Linked DNA regions of Homo sapiens: region 1 is linked to region 2. The links are contacts of gene promoters, found by promoter capture Hi-C in human tissues and cell types (Jung and others, 2019). All regions are on one chromosome and are shown on one strand. Each heading gives the region's core, a stretch centred on a gene start or on the middle of the fragment in contact. The rest is flanking DNA. Distances are from core to core; before and after follow the strand shown.

What was found. The method cuts DNA at HindIII sites, captures the fragments that hold promoters and counts their contacts. A contact is called where the count stands out against the background at its distance.
Region 1: a contact is called between a fragment that was not itself captured here and the fragment with the promoter of OCM in region 2, in 1 of the 25 tissues and cell types used here (psoas muscle).

The regions. Positions count from the first base shown.
Region 1 is chr7:6,314,614-6,318,356 of GRCh38, reverse strand. No RefSeq gene overlaps it. Among named protein-coding and RNA genes, the nearest start is that of FAM220A, 32 kb to the left of the region's middle. The HindIII fragment of the contact is 4,452 bases long and covers 1-3,743 here.
Region 2 is chr7:5,879,548-5,883,212 of GRCh38, reverse strand. It overlaps OCM (oncomodulin), which reads right to left and starts at 2,415. Exons shown (of 4, transcript NM_001097622.2): 1 at 2,263-2,415; 2 at 588-720. The coding sequence starts at 2,323. The HindIII fragment of the contact is 18,194 bases long and covers 1-3,665 here.

The DNA.
Region 1 (3,743 bases), core at 626-3,125, 440 kb before region 2:
CGCGTTCGTGTCACTACACTCCAGCTTGGGTGACAGAGTAAGTCCCTGTCTCAAAAAAACAGAACAAAGAAAAACTTCAATTTCTCTTACACTGCAGCCTGAGCGTGTGACTTGTAGAAGAGTGCACTTACCCTTTAGCACACTCCAGAGGAAATACATACTCAGGTTTAAAGCTTGACCTTGGCTCTGGTAACGGGACAGTTCATCGAACAAGGGGTGATTCATGAGAACATCCTGTACCGCCCCCTCTCCCTCTAGAGCCACTGGGGGCCTCAAAACGTGAGAGCGGAACCGCTCGAGGAATGGAGGCAGGTTTTGCAAGCGTCTGTCTCCCTGGAACGGCAGGCTTACTGAGGAGTCTCTGGGCTCCTTCCAGCTCCAGGCTGGACTTGGCCTCCCCCTTACTGCCTCCAACGTTACCTCTTTTCCCAAAAATAGGATTTGGAACTTATTCCCCAAGTGACATAATACATCTTACAGTCATGGGCAGGAAGTGGCTGTTTTCCTGCCAGGCCTGTGAGGTCCCCTGGAGATGAGCTGGGAAGGGTACTCCTCGTCCTGCTTCACAATAGAACTTCAACGCCTTCATTTTAAGGCGATTTTCTTCCATTTGGAAGCGCAGCGTGCTTTTCCACACTATGCAGCGAAAGAGGTTAGATTGGCTGGATTTGGACGCTCTTGGGTGTTTCTGCTTCATAAACAAAGCATGCTTGAATATTAATAATGATGCCCTCCAACATGGCGAGATCCCGTCTCCACGGAAAATATAAAAATTAGCCGGGCGTGGCGGCTCATGTCTGTAATCCCAGCACTTTGGGAGGCCGAGGTGGACGGATCACGAGGTCAGGAGATGGAGACCATCCTGGCTAACAGGGTGAAACCCCGTCTCCACTAAAAATACAAAAAATTAGCCAGGCATGGTGGTGGCACCTGTAGTCCCAGCTACTCGGGAGGCTGAGGCAGGAGAATGGCGTGAACCCAGGAGGCGGAGGTTGCAGTGAGCCGAGATTGCGCCACTGCACTCCAGCCTGGGCGGCAGAGCAAGACCGTGTCTCTAAAAAATAAATAAAATATTATTTATTAATTTTACAATAAAATAATTATATTTTATATATTATATAAAATAAATTTATATTTTATAATAAATAAAATATTTTAATGTCTAAAATGTTATATATTAATATATAAAACATTATTTTATTTATTAAACATATAAATATTTTTTATTTATTAAAAATAAATAAAATATCATTTATGTTTTAGACAGGGTCGTCGTCTGGCACCCAGGCTGGAGTGCAGTGGTGCAATCACAGTTCACTGAAGCCTCGACCTCCCAGGCTCAAGGGATCCTCCTGCCTCAGCCTCCCGAGTACCCAGGACCACAGGCATGCGCCACCACGCCTGGCTTTATTGTAAGTTCTAGTGTAGGCACAACGCCGGTTACTTAAGATGACAAATGGGGAAAATCCACATTAATTGGGTTTGCTATTAAGTGGGTGTGTTGATGGCCGGGCACAGTGGCTCATGCTGGTAACCCCAGCACTTTGGGAGGCCGAGGTGGGCAGATCACTAGGTCAAGAGATCGAGACCATCCTGGCCAACACAGTGAAACCCCGTCTCTACTAAAAATACAAAAATTAGCTGGGTGTGGTGGTGTGCATCTGTAATCCCAGCTACTCAGGAGGCTGAGGCAGGAGAATTGCTTGAACCTGGGAGGTGGAGGGTGCAGTGAGCCAAGATCATGCCACTGCACTCCAGCCTGGCAACAGAGCGAGACTCCATCTAAAAAAACAAAAAACAAAACAACAAAAAAAAAGAATTGTCCTCCTCCCGCAACTGAAAACACTGCCCAGGCGAGACTTCCTGACGTTGACATCATGCATCTTAGCACTTTCCTACCCAAGGCTGTAAAAAGCTCTGTTGCACTTTGGCAACGATAGGAATAAGTCTCTGCATCAGCTTTGATCCTGGCTCCAGAGCAAACTAAGCCAAGAACTGAGAATCTGTTGGCTCTGGCTTATTTTGTTTTATTTTATTTATTTTTTTGAGGCAGGGTCGATTTTGGCCCACTGCAACTTCTGCCTCCTGGGCTCAAGCAGTTCTCCTACCTCAGACTCTTGAGTAGCTGGGATTACAGGCACATGGCACCACACCCAGCTAATTTTTGTGTTTTTTGTAGAGACAGGGTTTCATGATGTTACCCAGGCTGGTCTCGAACTCCTGAGCTCAAGAGATCCTCCTGGCTCAGCCTCCCAAAGTGCTGGGATTACAGGTGTGAGCTGCCACACCCGGCTGGGTCTGGCTTCTTATACTGGGCCTTGCCCAGGTTTTGTTATCTGTTTGGAAGTTATTTTTAGCCCTCCGGAACAGTTTTGAGACAAATCGTTTCGGTGCTTATGCAGCATTATTTTTTTTAACCGATCATGACTATTTTCAACTCAGTAGAAGTTCTAAGGCAGAAACATTTCCTTTTTAAGGCCGTGTTTCTCTGGCAGTCCTAAAGACTAATCCAAAAGATTAGCAAAAGTAACCGCTTGTTAAACAGCTCAAATCTGGTAAATACAGGAGATATGCTTCTGTTCAGGGAACCTCTCAGGGTGAGAGAAGAAAGGAAGAAAAAGAGAAGATTTCTATGGATGTCTATGAACAGTGAATTCCTTAACGGAACCAAAATTTGTCTTTTTTAACTGGAAAACTTACATTCATTGATGATAAATAGTATATATCTGAGCCAAAACTGTGTTGCCCAAAATTTAAGTTACATTAAGAAATAGTCGGCCAAGGCCGGGCGCGGTGGCTGACACCTGTAATCCCAGCACTTTGGGAGGCTGAGGCGGGCATATCACGAGGTCAGGAGATCGAGACCATCCTGGCTAACACGGTGAAACCCCGTCTCTACTAACGATACAAAAAAAAAAAAAATTAGCCAGGCGTGGTGGTGGGCGCCTGTAGTACCAGCTACTAGCGAGGCTGAGGTGGGAGAATGACATGAACCTGGGAGGCAGAGCTTGCAGTGAGCCAAGATTGTGCCACTGCACTCCAACCTGGGTGACAGAGCGAGACTCCATCTCGGAAAAAAAAAGAAATAGTCGGCCAGGCACAGTGGCTCACACCTGTAATCCCAGCACTTTGGGAGGCCGAGGCTGACAAATCACGAGGTCAGGAGTTCGAGACCAGCCCGGCCAACATGGTGAAACCCCATCTCTACTAAAATACATAAATTAGCCGGGTGTGGTGGCGGGCGCCTGTAGTCCCAGCTACTTGGGAGGCTGAGGCAGGAGAATCACTTGAACCCCGGAGGCGGAGGTTGCAGTGAGCTGAGATCGCACCATTGCCCTCCAGCCTGGTGACGGAGAGAGACTACGTCTCAAAAAAGAAAAAAAAATAGTCCTCTAACTTTTTGAGTCAGCTCTGTACATCTGCTGGTCGCTCAGTGGGTCTGATCCAGTTCTGTGTCTTTGGGAATAATCTGGCCACAGGGCTGTCCCCACTGTTTTAGCGGGGCAGTGTCAACCTCCCTCAACCCCAGCGGCCATAGGTCCAGAGTTAGGCTTTGTCTTTTTTTTTTTTTTTTTGAGACGGAGTCTCGCTCTGTCGCCCAGGCTGGAGTGCAGTGGCGCGGTCTCGGCTCACTGCAAGCTCCGCCTCTCAGGTTCACGCCATTCTCCTGCCTCAGCCTCCCGAGTAGCTGGGACTACAGGCGCCCGCCACCACGCCCTGCTATAGGCTTTGTCTTCAAAGCA
Region 2 (3,665 bases), core at 1,166-3,665:
CGCTTAGCCAAGTTTTTAGTTTTTTAAAGTCCATTTGCCAAAGGAAATCCCTTACATGAAAGAATCTTTGTGGCTGGGCACAGTGACTCACACCTGTAATCCCAGCACTTTGGGAGGCCAAGGCAGGAGGATCACTTGAAGTCAGGAGTTTGAGACCAGCCTGGCAACATAGTGAAGCCCCATCTCTACTCTAAATATGAAAATGAGCTGGATGTGGTGGCAGGCACCTGTAATCCCAGCCACTTGGGAGACTGAGGCATGAGAATCACTTGAATTTGGAAGGCGGAGGCTGCAGGGAGCTGAGATCACCCCACTGCACTCCAGCCTGGGCAACAGAGTGAGGCCCTGTCTCAAAAAAAAAAAAAAAAAAAAGAATCTTTGCACCTGCAGTCTTCTCTGCCCATATTGAGGGCTTTGCATGGGTAGATGTGCGGTCAACTGACTCATGTCCTTTGCTTTAATGATGCTTGGCCGAATGACCAACACCAAGGCTGGCCATTGAAGAAATACTGAGCAACCTGGCCCCCACTGCACCCCAGGCCCACTCAGCAGTGCCGGGTACCAGACAGACTCAGGACAAAGCTTACTTAAGCTCTTCTTCATCCAGGTACCCGCTCTGGTCGTTGTCTATGAACCGGAAAACATCCTTCACCTGATTGGCTGACATCTTGGAGAGGCCTGATGTCTGGAAGAATTTTTGGGGTTCAAAAGTGTCTGGGTCTGAAGAACAGAGAATTGGTTATTCTGACGCTTGTTGGATCACATTCTATGTTGGGGCCAAGGTACTAAAAACACAGATAATTAAAAACACTTCAACAATATCCCTGAGCTACGGGGATGCTCAACTGGTCCAAGATTTTGGGACAGCCAAGACTTGATGGCTCTGTGATGGCATCCCATGTCCCCTCCGCCCCAGTCTTCCCTCCTCCACTTGGTTTTGTCCATTTTCCTTTTCCCTCCTCATCTCTTCTGTGCCTCCCCCTCCCCCTGGCCCACTTTACAGGCTGTGTGGCTGAGCCCCCAGCATCCCTGGTCTAATTGGTAGGGGGAAATGCAATCACTGGATTTCAACAGGCTAAATGGCCTTTGGCGCTTTTTTTTTTTTTTTTTTTTTTTTTTTTTTTTTTGAGACAGAGTCTCACTCTGTCACCAGGCTGGAGTGCAGTGGCGTGATCTCGGCTCACTGCAACCTCTGCCTCCCGGGTTCAACTGATTCTCCTGCTTCAGCCTCCCAAGTAGCTGAGATTACAGGTGTGCACCCCCATGCCCAGCTCATTTTTGTATTTTTAATAGAGACAGGGTTTTGCCATGCTGGCCAGGTTGGTCTTGAACTCCTGACCTCAAGTGATGCACCGGCCTCGGCCTCCCAAAGTGTTGGGATTACAGGTGTGAGCACGACACCTGGCCTTTCAGTGATGTCTTGCTTTCATGTTTAGTAGGTTTCTTTTGTCTTACAGATGTGTAATCGTGTGCTCAGATCCCAGATCTCTATAATTTTAGTTATCTAATAAATAGCAGTTTTCTTCTCTGATTCCATGAATTTTCCAGCCAACCTCTTATTTATTTATTTATTTATTTATTTAGAGCCAGAGTCTCACTCTGTCGTCCAAGCTGGAGTGCAGTGTAGCGATCATAGCTCACCACAGCCTCAACCTCCTGGGCTTCAGTGATCCTCCTACCTTAGTTTCCAGAGTAGCTGGGACCACAGGCACATGCCACCATGCCCCGCTAGTTTTTATTTTTATTGTTATGTTGTAGAGATGGAGTCTTCCTATGTTGCCCAGGCTGGTCTCAAACTCCTGGGCTCAAACAGTCCTCTCACCTTGGCCTCCAAAAAGTGTTGGGATTACAGATGTGAGCCACCATGCCTGGTCTACTTTTTTTTTTTTTTTTTGTAGACAGAGTCTTGCTCTGTTGCCCAGGCTGGAGTGCAGTGGCATGATCTCAGCTCACTGCAACTTCTGCCTCCCGGGTTCAAGCAATTCTCTGCCTCAGCCTCCCGAGTAGCTGGGATTACAGGCACCCACCACCACGCCCGGTTAATTTTTTTGTATTTTTAGTAGAGATGGGGTTTCACCATCTTGGCCAGGCTGGTCTCGAACTCCTGACCTCGTGATCCACCCGCCTCGGCCTCCCAAAGTGCTGGGATTACAGGTGTGAGCCACTGCGTCTGGCCGCCTGGCCTACATTTTGATTTTGTGTTGACTCGCTGGAGGTGCAAAGCTGTGAGGAAATCCCACCCCCGCCTCACGTCCCCTCTACCTCGGCATTCCTGGAGCGCTGCTGCAATGTCGTCAGCACTGAGCACGTCCGTGATGCTCATTTTCTACCTACTCACACAGAATAAATGAGAGGCGATAAGCCACAAACAGGAATGTGCACATCCAGGGGAAACACATCTTCCCAGGCCCACTGAAACTGTATGTGTGTCTAGATTATTTTTTTTTTTAAATTAAGACGGAGTCTCACTCTGTCACCCAGGCTGGAGTGCAAGAGCGTGATCTCGGCTCACCGCAACCTCCGCCTCCTGGGCTCAAGTGATTCTCCTGCCTAAGCCTTCCCAGTAGCTGGGATTACAGGTGCGCACTACCATGCCTGGCTAATTTTTGTGTTTTTAGTAGAGACGGGGTTTTGCCATGTTGGCCAGGCTGGTCTTGAGCTCCTGACCTCAGGTGATCTGCCTGCCTTGGCCTCACAAAGTGCTGGGATGACAGATGCAAGCCACCGAGCCAGGCCTGTCTAGAATTTTTAAAATGTGATAAGCATGGTTTTGTATTAAGTGACGGGACAGAATATCCAAATTAAAACCAGATACGGAAAACACCCCAGCCTTTTTTGTCTCAGAGCCTTCTTTTGAATACATGCCAAAAATGGAAAAAAAAAATGACCCAAAGAAGGATTCAATTGTTTTCTTATAAAAATTATACTGACATAATCAGTCATTTGCATAGGCAGCCGTAAACCATGTTACACATGCACTGGCATTTTCCTACAGCAGCCCGAGAGATGCAATGTTGCAAATTCCACGTGGGAAAGGATACAGTTTGGGCTGCTTGCAGACATTCTGTGGAAGAAGGCATGCACCTGTCCTGAAAGGTGGGAAGCAGATGGATGAAAAGCCCATCTCCCAGAGATTAAAATCCTTCCAGGTGTCAGAGCCACCGGAAAACAGGAGTCTAAGCACCTGAGCCTAATATGAATGCATGCAGTGAAGAAAAGAGTCTGGGGTCTGATGTGTCCACCAGTTACTCACCGTTTTCGGTTTCCCCCCAGGAAGAATCAGGAAAAAGAGTTGAAGGAGCAAAACAACAGATGTGTTTTTGCTACCTTACTGACCTACCTTATATAGGCTAGAAAAAGTGATAGTTACAACCTCTTAGATTTCCTTTTCAAGGATCAAGTGGATGCAGCTCAAATGTCTTGTCTTACTCATGAAACCTCTTTTTTTTTTTTTTTCTATTTATGTCTCAAGGGAATGTGGGTGGGAACAGCCAATTGTAAAAAAAAAAAAAAAACAACAACAAACTTCAACAAACCTTAACTAAGATTTCAATTCTGCAAACGAACCCTGTTGGCAAAGTGTGGAGAAGGTTCTAGATGCCTGGTAAGGTGGAGATGGTGGCCTGAACTAAGACAAACACATACAGGGTGCTCTGTAAGCTGAA